2 separate regions of the Homo sapiens genome follow, and region 2 is linked to region 1. The links are contacts of gene promoters, found by promoter capture Hi-C in human tissues and cell types (Jung and others, 2019). All regions are on one chromosome and are shown on one strand. Each heading gives the region's core, a stretch centred on a gene start or on the middle of the fragment in contact. The rest is flanking DNA. Distances are from core to core; before and after follow the strand shown.

Region 1 (6,311 bases), core at 2,683-5,182:
TGTTTGCACCCATGAGTGTGTAGGAGAGTGGGGGCCTGAAAGGGCCTACATCTTCTGTTGAGGGCTGTGTGAGGTGCCCTATAAAAATGGAGGTCATGATGTGTTTCTGTCATAGTGACAAGCTCGAGGCCCAGAGGGATGTGAGGGAGACCCTGGAGGGAGCATGAGCGAGGCTGTGGAGCAGGCCAGGGGCAGGCAAAAGGCTGGACACAGCCCACACTGCACTTCGCTGGGACAACTGGGGTGGCCATCTGCAAGCAGCCAGGCCTCTGTGCTTGGGATCCCATAGTCCAGCAGGAGCTGGTGACGGCCGGGCAGAAGGAACGGCCTGAGAGGGAGAGCAGGGCTGGGTAAGGGGTGGAGCTTGCTGTGCTCCACTAGGCAGCGACGGTGGCTATGGCCAGGCCTGGCAGCAACTCCAGGTGGCTGGGAGGGTGTGGGTCCCAGGGGAGGGCCAGGACTGAGAACGGAAGCAGGAGGTGGCCGTGGCGGGAGTGCCACAGCCCAGTCTGGTAAAGGCAGCAGAGGGACTTGAAAGATGAACAAAATCCAGTTGCAAGCCCTGAAGTGGGCTTGGACCCTGGGGAGGCGGTGGCGGGAGGCACAGGCCCACCTCTAGGGTCCTGGTGGGGTCCCTGGGGAGATGACAAGATTCCGTTAACCCAGACATGGGAAGAAGGGAGAGGTGCTCAGAGTGCCCTGGAGTGCGGGTGTGCCTGGGGATTGTTCTCAGATGGAGCCATGGTCTCCTTGCAGCGCAGCTGCCCTGTCCTCTGTCCATGTGGGCTCTTCCAAGAATTCTTGTTCCTGAGAACTCAGCTTAGAAGGGGCGTGCTGGGAGGCTGGGGCCACTAGGTTCCTGCCGTCTGTGGCCTCATGGGACGCAGGTGGGCAGATGCATATGCATTGGTCTGGTCTCCTGCCTGTCTCCTCTCTGTCACTGGATGAGCTCAGAATGGATGCCCCTGGACATCTGTGCAGCTCTGGGCCATTCAGTGTTAGGCTAGGCCCGTCTCTCTGCATTTCAGACCCGCTCAGCCTTGGGACCACTGGCATCTGCTGCGTGGGTATAAGACACCTCTGGGCCACCCAGCCCTGGGGAGGCAGGTGGCCCTTCACACTCTCACAGGGCTGCTGGCCACAGGGACACCTTTGCCTCTCCCTCTGCCAACTTCAAAAGCCTAATTACCCTGATTTGGGCTGTTTCCTGGTTTGTTTCTCCAGGTGAGGAGATTCCCCTTCACTTTCACTTTCATGTGCCGGTGATGGTGGAGGGGGGAGAATCAAGGGGCCAGCGGCTTCATGTTAGGGAGGGGCTGGGGGCACAGGTGAGGAGTTACAGGGAGGCCCCCCACCCCAGCCTGCTCTGTTCCACTGGGGCTCACCAGGAGCCCACCTGGCAGGGGCCAAGGTCCCCTCCTCCCCTGGTGATGCTTAATCTGGGGTGGATGCGGGGAGGCAGGAGAAAGGAGGAGATGCTCTACTGGGTAGAAGACCAGAGAAAGAGAGAGAATCTTCCCCGGCTATTAAGGCTATTAAACTGTAGGATGCCAGCGGCAGGGGTCCAGCAGCAGGGGTCCTGCAGCACTGCGTCCTTCTGTGAGTCTTCTTCCCTATGCTGCCGGGGTGCTGCTCATGCCTGGGGGAAGCCATGTCTTTGCTCCAGCCCGAGCAGCCTGCCTGGGAGCAGAGAGGGGATCAAGAAGGGGGCAGACTTGTCCCCAGGGAGCCAGCCTCCCCCAAGGGGAGGCTGCTTCTCAGGAAGCAGAGAATCCCCAAGTGTGAGAACCCTACTGAGAACAAAGTGGTGGTGGGGATGGGGGAGGGGTCCTCACCACCCACCCCGGTCAGTGTCAGGTGGGGTTCTATGCCCCGCTTCCCTGTGTGGCCAAAGGGCTGTCCTGGACTCTTGATAGGAGGGTGCGGAGGGTACAGGGACTTCACTTCTCTGCTCCTCCTGGCTCCCCTGCAGAATGCCTGACTGTCCCCGAGGGTGTCTCAGGGTCCATTCAGGGTAGAACACAGGGGGCCCAGGTGAAAAGGAGGTATACATGCATATGAGGTGGATGGGGACCGAGGCTAGGAACCCTCAGGGCCGACAAGACAAAGATCCTAGGGCGCGGGGTTGCCAGGAGGCTGGCGACATTTATGGGAAGGGCGCGGGGCGAAGGAGCTTCCTTTTGCGCTCAGGAACGCGGCGGCGGGTTCTAATTAGAAGCCTGGTGCGTAAGCCGGCAGCCCTCGGGGCTCTCTCGGACGGACGCGCTGCCCCTGGCTCCCTGCGGCCGTCTGGACGCGCGTCAGTATCCCCGCACCCCAAGGCGAGCCCCGAGCCTGACCCTCAGGTGGGCCACTGGGCGCAGCAGGTGCCGCACGGGAAATGGGGCACGCGGAAATAGGGGCGCGCGGGGGTCCCCGAAGCGCGTCCCCGCGGCCTCGTGGCCTCTTCCAGGCCCTTCAGCTGCCTAGGGCTGCCCCTTCCCCTCCCCGCTGCTCCTGGCCCGGCGCCCCTACCGCGGGAGCCCCCGCTCCTGAACCATCTCGAAGAGAAAAATTATTATCGGATTAGATGTACCTCGGCTCGCTGGGTCTCCCCCCTTCCCCTCGGCGTAATTATTATAATTCCAGGCTGCCGTCGGAGAAGGATGGGGGGGAGTGTGCATGCTTGTGGGGAGGCTTCTCTCCAACTGTGGGTCCTACCAGCGCTGCGCCCGGCCCTGCGCGCCCACATTCCTCCCACTTGTGTTCCTCAATCTTGGGCATCTCAGAGCGCCCTTAATTCGGAACTGGGGTGATCCTTGCTTGGTGAGGGCTCTGAGGGATCACAAGCCCTGGCGAAAGTGTGGCCACCGTTCCCCCTCCCACAGGATATGTGCAGTGGAGGTGGGAGGCCTGAGAGAGACCTTTCGGGACCCTTCCTTTGGTTTATCTGCACTTCCATCGCCAGGCTGGGGAGGGTCTCACGGAACGCGCCTTTTCTGGTGTGGAGGGCGCAGCACAGCGCTTTCTGATTGAGGGTCCTGGAGCCCCTCACACCCCGTGCTTAACTCACCCTTAACTCTCTCTACAGCAGCCCCTCATTGCCAGGTGGACCCATGCGGAGGGCTCGCAGAGAGGGCCCCTGGAAACCCCCGTGCCCGGACTGCGGCGGGGAGGCGCGCGGGGCCCAGGGCCGGCCCCCAGTGCGCCCCGCCGCCGGCTCTGCGCCACTCCCCGCCGGGTCCCAGCTTTCTTTACGTAACCACGCTGCTCCGAGCTGTTCAGTCTTGTCTCATCGACTTTGTTTTAAAACGTGTGTGTGTGTTTGTGTGTAAGATACGGTTTTTGAGGAAAGTCTCCGGCGAATTCTCTCTCGCTGGCCCTCTTCCCTCGCCTGTCCCCTGGCCTCGAGCTGCCTGTCCCCTCGGTGACCGTGCGTGCCGACCTTCTTTCAGCCTCTCCCCAGCCCACTGCTCGCCCTGTCCGACGCCAGGGGCAGCTAGGACCTCCGCAACCTCCCCTACTCCCCCGCTCGGGAATCAATGTCTCCGGAAACTCCGCCACCCACGCGTCCCAGCGGCCTGAACAGGTCCAAAGTGGCCGTCAAGGAAAACCAACCGCCCGCGGCCCGCACGCGGGGCTGGAGCAGAAGGGCGCGGGCTCGGGCCACCGCGGGGTCCCTGCCCGAGGGGACCGTCTGCTGCGGGCGCGGCGCACAGGGGCAGGGGCGAACGCGAGGAGGCTCACTCACCACCAGATCGGGTAGCTGCCCAGAGCCTGCTTCAGGCTGCAGAGGAGTAAGAAGTATCCGAGTGGGGCCATCGCCGCGCGAGAGGGCGCGGAGGGCCGGGAGTCCGCCCCGAGAGCGTGAGCGCCGGGGGGGGCCGGGCCCTGGGAGCTGGCGCGGCGGCGTCGCTGGGCCCTCCTGCGGCCGCGGGTGCGCGGGTGTGCGCGGGCTCCGAGGGCGGCGCTGCGCCAGGTGGGCCGGCGGCCGGGCTGCGGGCCGAGGCCCGGGGCGGCGCGGGGCGGCGGGGGCGGGGCAGCGCCGCGGGGGGCGCCCGCCGGGGCCGGGGCCCGGGCGGGGCAGGCAGGGGCAGGCGGGGCCACGGGAGCCCGAACCGCGGCGGCGGCGTTGGCCCCCGCCTGCTGCCGTGGGTGTCGGTGTGTCTGAGGACGTGCTGGTGTGCGGGCCCCCAGGTGTGCGCGGCGCGCTGGGGTGCGCCAGATGGGCAGGCGGCCGGCCCGGGGCCGCGCGATCCGCAGGCGCCCTCCTGGAGCTCCCGGGCCGCGTCCTGGGTTTCCAGCCCCGCGCGCCCTGCGCTCACGGTGGGACCCGCAGTCCCCCTCTCGCTCCTGGTCTGTGGCGAGCTCCGTCTCTTGCCCCCGAGGTGGCTGGGCTAGGGCTCCCCTTCATCCATCAACCTTCTCGGGGCGGGGGTTTGGGGAGGGAGCGGACGGTTGTCGGGTGCACGTCCTTTGGCCCCGTCTGCCTGCGGCCGGACTCCTTCCGCTGAGACCAGAGCTGCCTGCGCCTTCGGCGGATAGAAAGGGTCCGGGATGGGTGCAGCCTGCAATGGGGACAGCGGCCAGGTGGACCTCCAAGGTGCAGCCACGCGTCTGTGGGTCACAGCTGGGGACGAGTGGGACTCTCTCTGTGGCGCAGGGATTGACCCCTCCATTTTTCTCCCCATCACTCCACCAGGGAAGAGAACAGTGGAAGCCCCTGACGCGATGGGACGGTGGGGAAGCGCAGTGCTGCCCCCAGGTTCTGGGACCACCAACCTCCAGGTCTGCCCAGAGCTATGCAGCCTGTTCCGACAGAGGGATTTCTGACTGTTTAGTTAAGCTTTAGGAGTTTGCTGATGGAGAGGGGAAGACCTGAGAGGGAAAGTGACTTGCCCAAGGTCACCCAGTGACCAGTCAACTCTCCAGCTCCCAGTCATTTGCATATCCATGTGTTGCCCCGGGAGCCGCCTGGGGAGATTGTAATTTGCAGAGGGGAAGTGTCCCCAGCCTCCCCCGGGGGACCTGATAACTGGGATGGTTAAGAGGCACTCTCCCATCGCGGCTGGTCCTCCTGCAGTCACACTGTGACCTAAGCTCAGCAGGAATCTTGGTTACCGCGTTGGAATTGAGGAAGGAGGCTCCGGGAGCTTCTGAGAGCTCCAAGCAACTCCAGACTCATCCGTGGTGTGTTCTCTGGGGATACTGCACTGCCCAGCCTGTGGGCTAGGCCTCCTGTGCGGCTGCAGAGTTGCGGGAGGGAGGTGCATGGAGAGGCAGGGATGGGCATGTGGCCGCTTCTGTGCAGCTTCTCAGGGAGGGGGTGGCTGAGATGTCCCCAGGTGTGTCACTGGCTGGCTGATGGAGGCAGCTGCTTCCCACAGTGTGCCCCACTCACAACTTGGTTCTGCGTTTGCAGAGGGAGCCTGTGGTCCTGTGGACACCGGCCCTAGGGGTCACCTGGTGACTATGTCAGGAGTCCTGAATTCAGAGTGACAGCCTTTCTCTTTGAAAAAAAGTTCCCTTTGCTCCTCACTACCTTGGGAATCCAGTTTCCGCTACGCATGCCCGGCCGCCCACCCGCTTCTCCCAGGCACTGCGGGGCCCCCACCCTCAGAGGGAAAGAGGGAAGAGCTCTGGAATGAAGCGGCGGTGGGGTCAGGGAGGGGGAGGGGAGGAGCGTGTTTGTGCTCCTCTGGACTTGGCCTTGCAGCAAAAATCCCACCCAATTGTGGTACTGGGGAAAACCTGGGCTGCAGGTGGGGTGGGCGCCTGAGCCCAGCCTGAGGCACGCAGACTCTTGTTACCCCCACCTCCCCAGAAATGAGGCTCGGGGATTAGAGCCCCCTAGAGGATGCCAGCTCTGCCCACCGACAGGATGGGCCTCGTGACCTCACTGAAGGGGGCAGGTGAGCGCAGCCTGCTCAGTCCTGCCCTCTTGCCCCTTGGTTTCCCAAGCCCCTCCTCCTGGCTGCTTTCTTCTCCCCCATCAGGCCCCATCCTCTGCCCGTGCCACCTGGGTAGTACACACACTGAGATCCGGCCGCTTCCCAGGCTGCAGAAGATGAAGGGAGGAGCAGACTCCGAGGCCCCAGGCAGGAGCTCAGCCTGCCCAGGCCAGGCTCTCAAGCGAGGGCTCCTGTTTCTGAAGACTCTGGATACCAGGGAGCCAGGGTAGGCTGCATGGAGGAACGAGCGGAGGCTTCTGGAACTAGCTCCTCGGTACCTGCCTGTACCACGTGGGGCTCCTCCTTCCCTCTGTGAGCCTCCGAGAGCCTCGGCTCCTGAGCAGCCAAGTCAGTGGGGCTGGGCTGGGGTGGGGTGGAGAG
Region 2 (5,718 bases), core at 2,098-4,597, 45 kb before region 1:
ATCTACTATTACCTGTCCCTACCTGTATCTATTTATATTTTATTTATATTTATCTCTACATATCTATTTATTTTAAAATTAATTTATTGTTATTTTAGTGGGTTCCAGGAGAGTGCAGACGGAAGTGTTCAGCTTCTCATCTTTAACTGGAAGTCCTTATTTGTTCTTCAGTTCTGCAATTTCTGTGTAATTATTTTCCAAATCTATTGTGTGTGTGTATATATATATATATATATATATATATATATATATATATATTTTTTTTTTTTTTTTTTTTTTGGGACGGAGTTTCCAAAAAAAACTCCCAGTTTCCAAAAAAAAAACTGCCCAGGCTGGAGTGTAATGGTGCACTCTCAGCTCACCACAACCTCCGCCTCCTGGATTCAAGTGATTCTCCTGGCTCAGCCTCCCAAGTAGCTGGGATTACAGGCGTGCACTACCACGCCCGGCTAATTTTGTATTTTTAGTAGAGACGGGAATTCTCCATGTTGGTCAGGCTAGTCTCGAACTCGCCTCGGCCTCCCAAAGTGCTGGGATCACAGGTGCGAGCCACCGTGCCCAGCCTATTATATAATTTTTATAGTTTCTAGTTTCCTGATGCAATGTTCACACTTGTGTTTTAGCTTTGTGAACCTAAGTAAGCATTTTTCCCCTCAAAGTCTGTGTCTAATAATTCCATTGTCTGAATTCCCTGTGTACTTGTGTTTTTTTTTTTTTTTCTGGTTTAACTCACTGTGTCATCAGATCATGTGATAGATTATCTTTGATTGTGTGCTGGACATTGTGTTTTCTTTTTTTTTTTTTTTTTTTGAGACAGAGTCTCACTCTGTCGCCCAGGCTGGAGTGCAGTGGTGCGATCTTGGCTCACTGCAAGCTCCGCCTCCTGGGTTCACGCCATTCTCCTGCCTCGGCCTCCCAAGTAGCTGGGACTACAGGCACCTGCCACCACGCCTGGCTAATTTTTTTTGTTATTTTTTAGTAGAGACCGGGTTTCACCATGTTAGCCAGGATGGTTTCAATCTCCTGACCTCACGATCCGCCCACCTCGGCCTCCCAAAGTGCTGGGATTATAGGTGTGAGCCACCACGCCCAGCCAACATTGTGTTTTCTAAAAAATTATTATAGAAACATTTATAGGCTTAGAGGAGGGATATCATCCTTCTCCAAAGAGGATTTTGTCTGCTTTTTCCAGGTGTATGGGAGTACCAGCAATTTGGGATTACCTTAATCCAAGTTCAGGTTTTGAGAGATTTCTAGTCTGCCCATGTGAACAGGACAAGACTACTTCTGGCTTGGCTTTGCTCTTCAGGGTCACAGCCTACACTGAGGAAGGATTTACCAGAGATGGCACCCTTGGTGGGCCCCTTAGCTCTGTGAGTCTGCTGGAAATGCAGTGCAACCTCTGTAGTCTCTTCCAGGTCAGCAAATGGCCCCTAGACAAAAGCTACCCCAGGTACCAGACTTGGGATCTTCTCTTGGATCAGGGGCTGCTAATTCCTCACTAGATGGTCAGTTATTTGACACTTAAAAATCATTTTATGGAAGTATAATAGACATACAAAAATATATATGTGTCATAAGTGCAAAATATACAAAATTTTACAAATTACCTGCCCCAGAACACCAGTGTCTCAGACACCCCCATCCTCCTCTCTCTTTCCAGGACATAGGTTCTCACAGCATTTTCTTGATGACTCATAACATTGAGCACCTTTTGTATAGGTAGTGGAATTTCTATATTTTCTTTCATAACATGGCTTTTAATTTTTTGGCCAATTTTCCCATTGGTTTGTCTATCTTTTTTTTCTTAGTCTGCAGAGTTCTTTTCCTACTGTAGCTTCTCTACATTTGCTGCATATGTGAGTGTGGATGTATGTATGTGAATGTGTCCTCTATGGGTTGCCTTTTCAGTCCCATAGTGGTGTCTTTTTATGGATGAAAGTTCTTAATTTGAATATAGTCTATGTTATTCCACTTCTCTTTCAATGTGAGTGCTTTTTTGGACTGTTTAAGACACCTTTGCCTACTCTAAGGTCACAAAGATATTCTATATTTTCTTGTAAAAGTTTTATTGTTTTACCTGTCCCACTGGGATTTGTAATTGATTTTTACAGATGGTGTGAGGTAGCAAGCCAGGGTTATTTTTTTTCCATGTTGCTATCTGTCTTAGTCAATGCTGTATTGCTACAACGTAACACCTGAGACTGAGTAATTCATAAATGTATTCTTTCATGGTTTGGGAGGCTGGGAAATCTAAGATCAAGGTGCTGACAGGTTAGGGCTTGGTTTATCTGCTTCCAAGAGGGCACCCTGAATGAATGCCATGTCCTCCAGAAGGGAGGAACATCATGTCCTCATATGGCAGGAAAGTAATAGAAAGAGAGAGAGAGAGAGACCCTCTTCTGCAAGCCCTTTTACAGCAGCATTGGTCCCTTTATGAGGGCAAGGCCCTCATCACCTAAACACCTCTTATTAGGTCCCACCTCTCCAGACTGTTGCACTGGAGATCAAGCTTACAACATACGAATTTTGGGAGACACATTCAGACCATAGCACCACCCGGTTGACTGAGCACCATTTATTGAAAAGCCCATTTCTCCCATGGCACTGCACTGCCTCATCTATCATGAATTGGGTAATTATGGGGACTCCACACTTTTAACAGGGTGCTTTTTATAGTTCATCCTGCATCTGAAGTTGTCTTCTGCAGGAAGATTAGTCTGAGTTATCTAGTTCCTCACTGTTAAAAGGTGAATATCCCCTGTTCACTCGTCACCCCTCTGTGGTCCCCTGATTCTACAGCCAAGGTCAGCTGCCATCTTCATGTTGTTAAATCCCGTGGACGCCACTTGGTCCTTACGCCCGTCACTGCCCATCAGCCATCTTTCCTCCCTTGGCCATCCACTGATCTTCTGACCACATCCTTTCTAGCAAGCTGCTGTGGTCTGAATGTTTGTGTTCCTCAAAAATTCATGGGTTAAAATCTTTACCCTCGGCTGGGCATGGTGGCTCACACCTGTAATCACAGCACTTTGGGAGGCCGAGGTGGGTGGATCACTTGAGGCCAAAAGCTCAAGACCAGCCTGGCCAACATGGTGAAACCCTATCTCCACTAAAAATACAAAAATTAGCCAGGTGTGGTGGCATGCGCCTATAGTCCCAGCTACTCAGAAGGCTGAGGCAGGAGAATCGCTTGAACCCGGGACGTGGAGGCTGCAGTGAGCTGAGATGGTGCCACTGTATCCAGCAAGACCCTGTGTCCCCACCCCCCCAGAAAGAAATCTTTACCCTCAAGGTGACAGCATTAAGAGGTAGGGCCTTTAGAAGGTGATCAAGTCAAGTCATGAGGGTGGAGCATCGTGAATGGGATTCGTGCCTGATACGGTTTGGATCTGTGTTCCCTCCAAATTTCATGTTGAAGTGTAATCCCCAGTGTTGGGCGTGGGACCTGGTAGGAGGTGTTTGGGTTATGGGGGCAGATCCCTCATGAATGGCTTGTGCTGTCCTCATGATAATGAGTGAGTTCACACAAGATCTGTGCGTGGCGACCTCTCCCCCACTCTGTCTTCCTTGCTCCTGCTCTGGCCCATGTGACGTGCCTGCTACCACTCCACTTCTGCCATGTGTAAAATCTCCCTGAGGCCTCCCAAGAAGCTGAGCAGATGCTGTTACCAAGCTTGTGCAGCCTGCAGATCCATGAGCCAATTAAACCTCTTTTCTTCATAAATTACCCAGTCTCGGGTAGCAATGCAAGAATGGCCTAAAACAATGCCCTTATAAAAGTAACCCCAGAGCGATCCACACCCTGGGTGAGGACACAGAAGGCATCATCCATGAGGAGCAGGCCCTCACCGGACAAGGTATCTGCTAGTACCATGACCTTGGACTTCCCAGTCTCCAGAACTGTGAGTACTAAACTCCCATTGTTTATAAATTATCCAGTCTAAGGTATTTTGTTGTAGCAGCACAGACAGAATAAGACACAGGCTCACGAAGCTTTACACGGCTTGGTTTGGGTTGGCCTCTGCAGATCAAGATGCTCTTTGTTCCATTACACTCTGTGCTCTGCCCACCAAGTCGCTTGTTGTCTTTCACCTCCAGGCTGCCTGGGAGGCTCTCCCAGCCTCCCTCCCCCTAAATTACTGCCAGCTGTCCTTGACATCGGGTCACCTTGTGTGCCTGCATTTCCTCATTGCAGAATTCCTCCCCGTCTCTGTGGCTGCCTGGCTGTCTCCCTCCCTGGGCTCTGCCGGGGCTCCTGTTGACCAGGCCTTTGCCTCATCACTCCTTCTTGGCTACCCCAGTCCACAGGTGGGCTCGCCATCCCCAGGAGCGCACTGGATGCTGTGGTGTAGCTGGATGGTGCTAAGCTTCGCACACCCCAGGCAGGGGTCGAGAAGACCCTCAGCCTGGCCACCATCCTGCCTCACCGGGCCATATGCCCCAAGGAACCAGGGCACACACCCTGCTGAGGAGGCTCCTTTTTCCCAAGCACCCTTGCGGGCGGCGAACCTACCTGGCGCCCAGCCTCGTTGTTGTGGCGGTTCATGGCTGAGCGGGCATCTGGCCGGTTCTCCCGGGCGTCGGCGAACTCCCGAGACACCATCCCACCAAACTCGATGTCCTCGCTACAGCCACCCCACTTCCAGCCCTTGCCTGGTGAGCCCTGGTGGCGGCTGCTGCAGCCACAGATGGCGGCCGTGCCTTCTGCACATGAGCGTGTCACTGCAAAGGCCACACCGGCTGAGGCAATGGCGTGGACAAAGGCCGACTCCCTGGTAGCTGTAGAGAGAGGAGAGATGCAGGGTTAACAGGGCTCAGCTCAAAGGACCGCCTTGGGCAGGTCAGGGGTCTTAGCCCATTTGCATTGTTATAAAGGAACTCGTGAGGTTGGGTGGTGTATAAGGCAAAGAGGCTTACTTGGTTCACGGATCTACAGGCTACACAGAAGCATGGCTCCAGCAACTGCCTCTGGCAAGGGCCTCAGGCTGTTTCCACTTGTGGCAGAAGGGAAAGGGGGCGTAAAGGGGAACCAGTGTGTGCAAGAAATTACATGGTGACAGAAGTGAGAGAGGGGAGGTTGGTACCAGGCTCTTTTTAACAAGCAACTTTGGCTAAGTACAGTGGCTCATGCCTGTAATCCCAGCACTTTGAGAGGCACAGTAGGAGGACTGCTTGAGACCAGGACAGCCTTTTCAACATAGCAAGACCCCATCTCTACAAAAACTAAAAATATTAACTGGATGTGGCCCCAACTACTTGGGAGGCTGAGGCGGGAGGATCACTTGAGCCCAGGAAGTGGAGGCTGCAGTGAGCCAGGATAGCACCACTGCACTCCAGCCCTGTCTTAAAAAACATACAGCTGGCAAGGTGGCTTACATCTGTAATCCCAGCCCTTTGGGAGGCAGAGGTGGGAGGATTGCTTGAGCCCAGGAGTTTGAGACCAGCCTTGGCAATGTAGCAAGACCCCATCTCTACAAAAAAATGTTAAAATTAGCAAGGTGCAGTGGTGTGTGCATGTAGTCCCAGCTATTCAGGAAGCGGAGGTGGGAGGATTGCTAGAGCCCAGGAGTTTGAGGCTGCAGTGAGCTATAGTCACACTCCAGCATGGGTGATAGAGCAAGACCCTGTCTTTAAAAAAAAGGCACAAGGAAGGCCAGCATGCACCTGGAAAGATGGTCGACATCACCCATCCTGGGGATGTGCAAATCAAAAAAC

What was found. Contacts are between HindIII fragments. The study calls those that stand out against the background at their distance.
Region 2: a fragment that was not itself captured here is called in contact with the fragment with the promoter of WNT3A in region 1 in 2 of the 25 tissues and cell types used here (H1 embryonic stem cells and pancreas).

What each region holds. Positions count from the first base shown.
Region 1 is chr1:228,004,619-228,010,929 of GRCh38, reverse strand. WNT3A (Wnt family member 3A) reads right to left here and starts at 3,932. Exons shown (of 4, transcript NM_033131.4): 1 at 3,731-3,932. The coding sequence starts at 3,801. The HindIII fragment of the contact is 17,022 bases long and covers 1-6,071 here.
Region 2 is chr1:228,049,720-228,055,437 of GRCh38, reverse strand. WNT3A (Wnt family member 3A) reads right to left here. Exons shown (of 4, transcript NM_033131.4): 3 at 4,517-4,782. Among named protein-coding and RNA genes, the nearest start is that of LINC02809, 24 kb to the left of the region's middle. The HindIII fragment of the contact is 5,382 bases long and covers 657-5,718 here.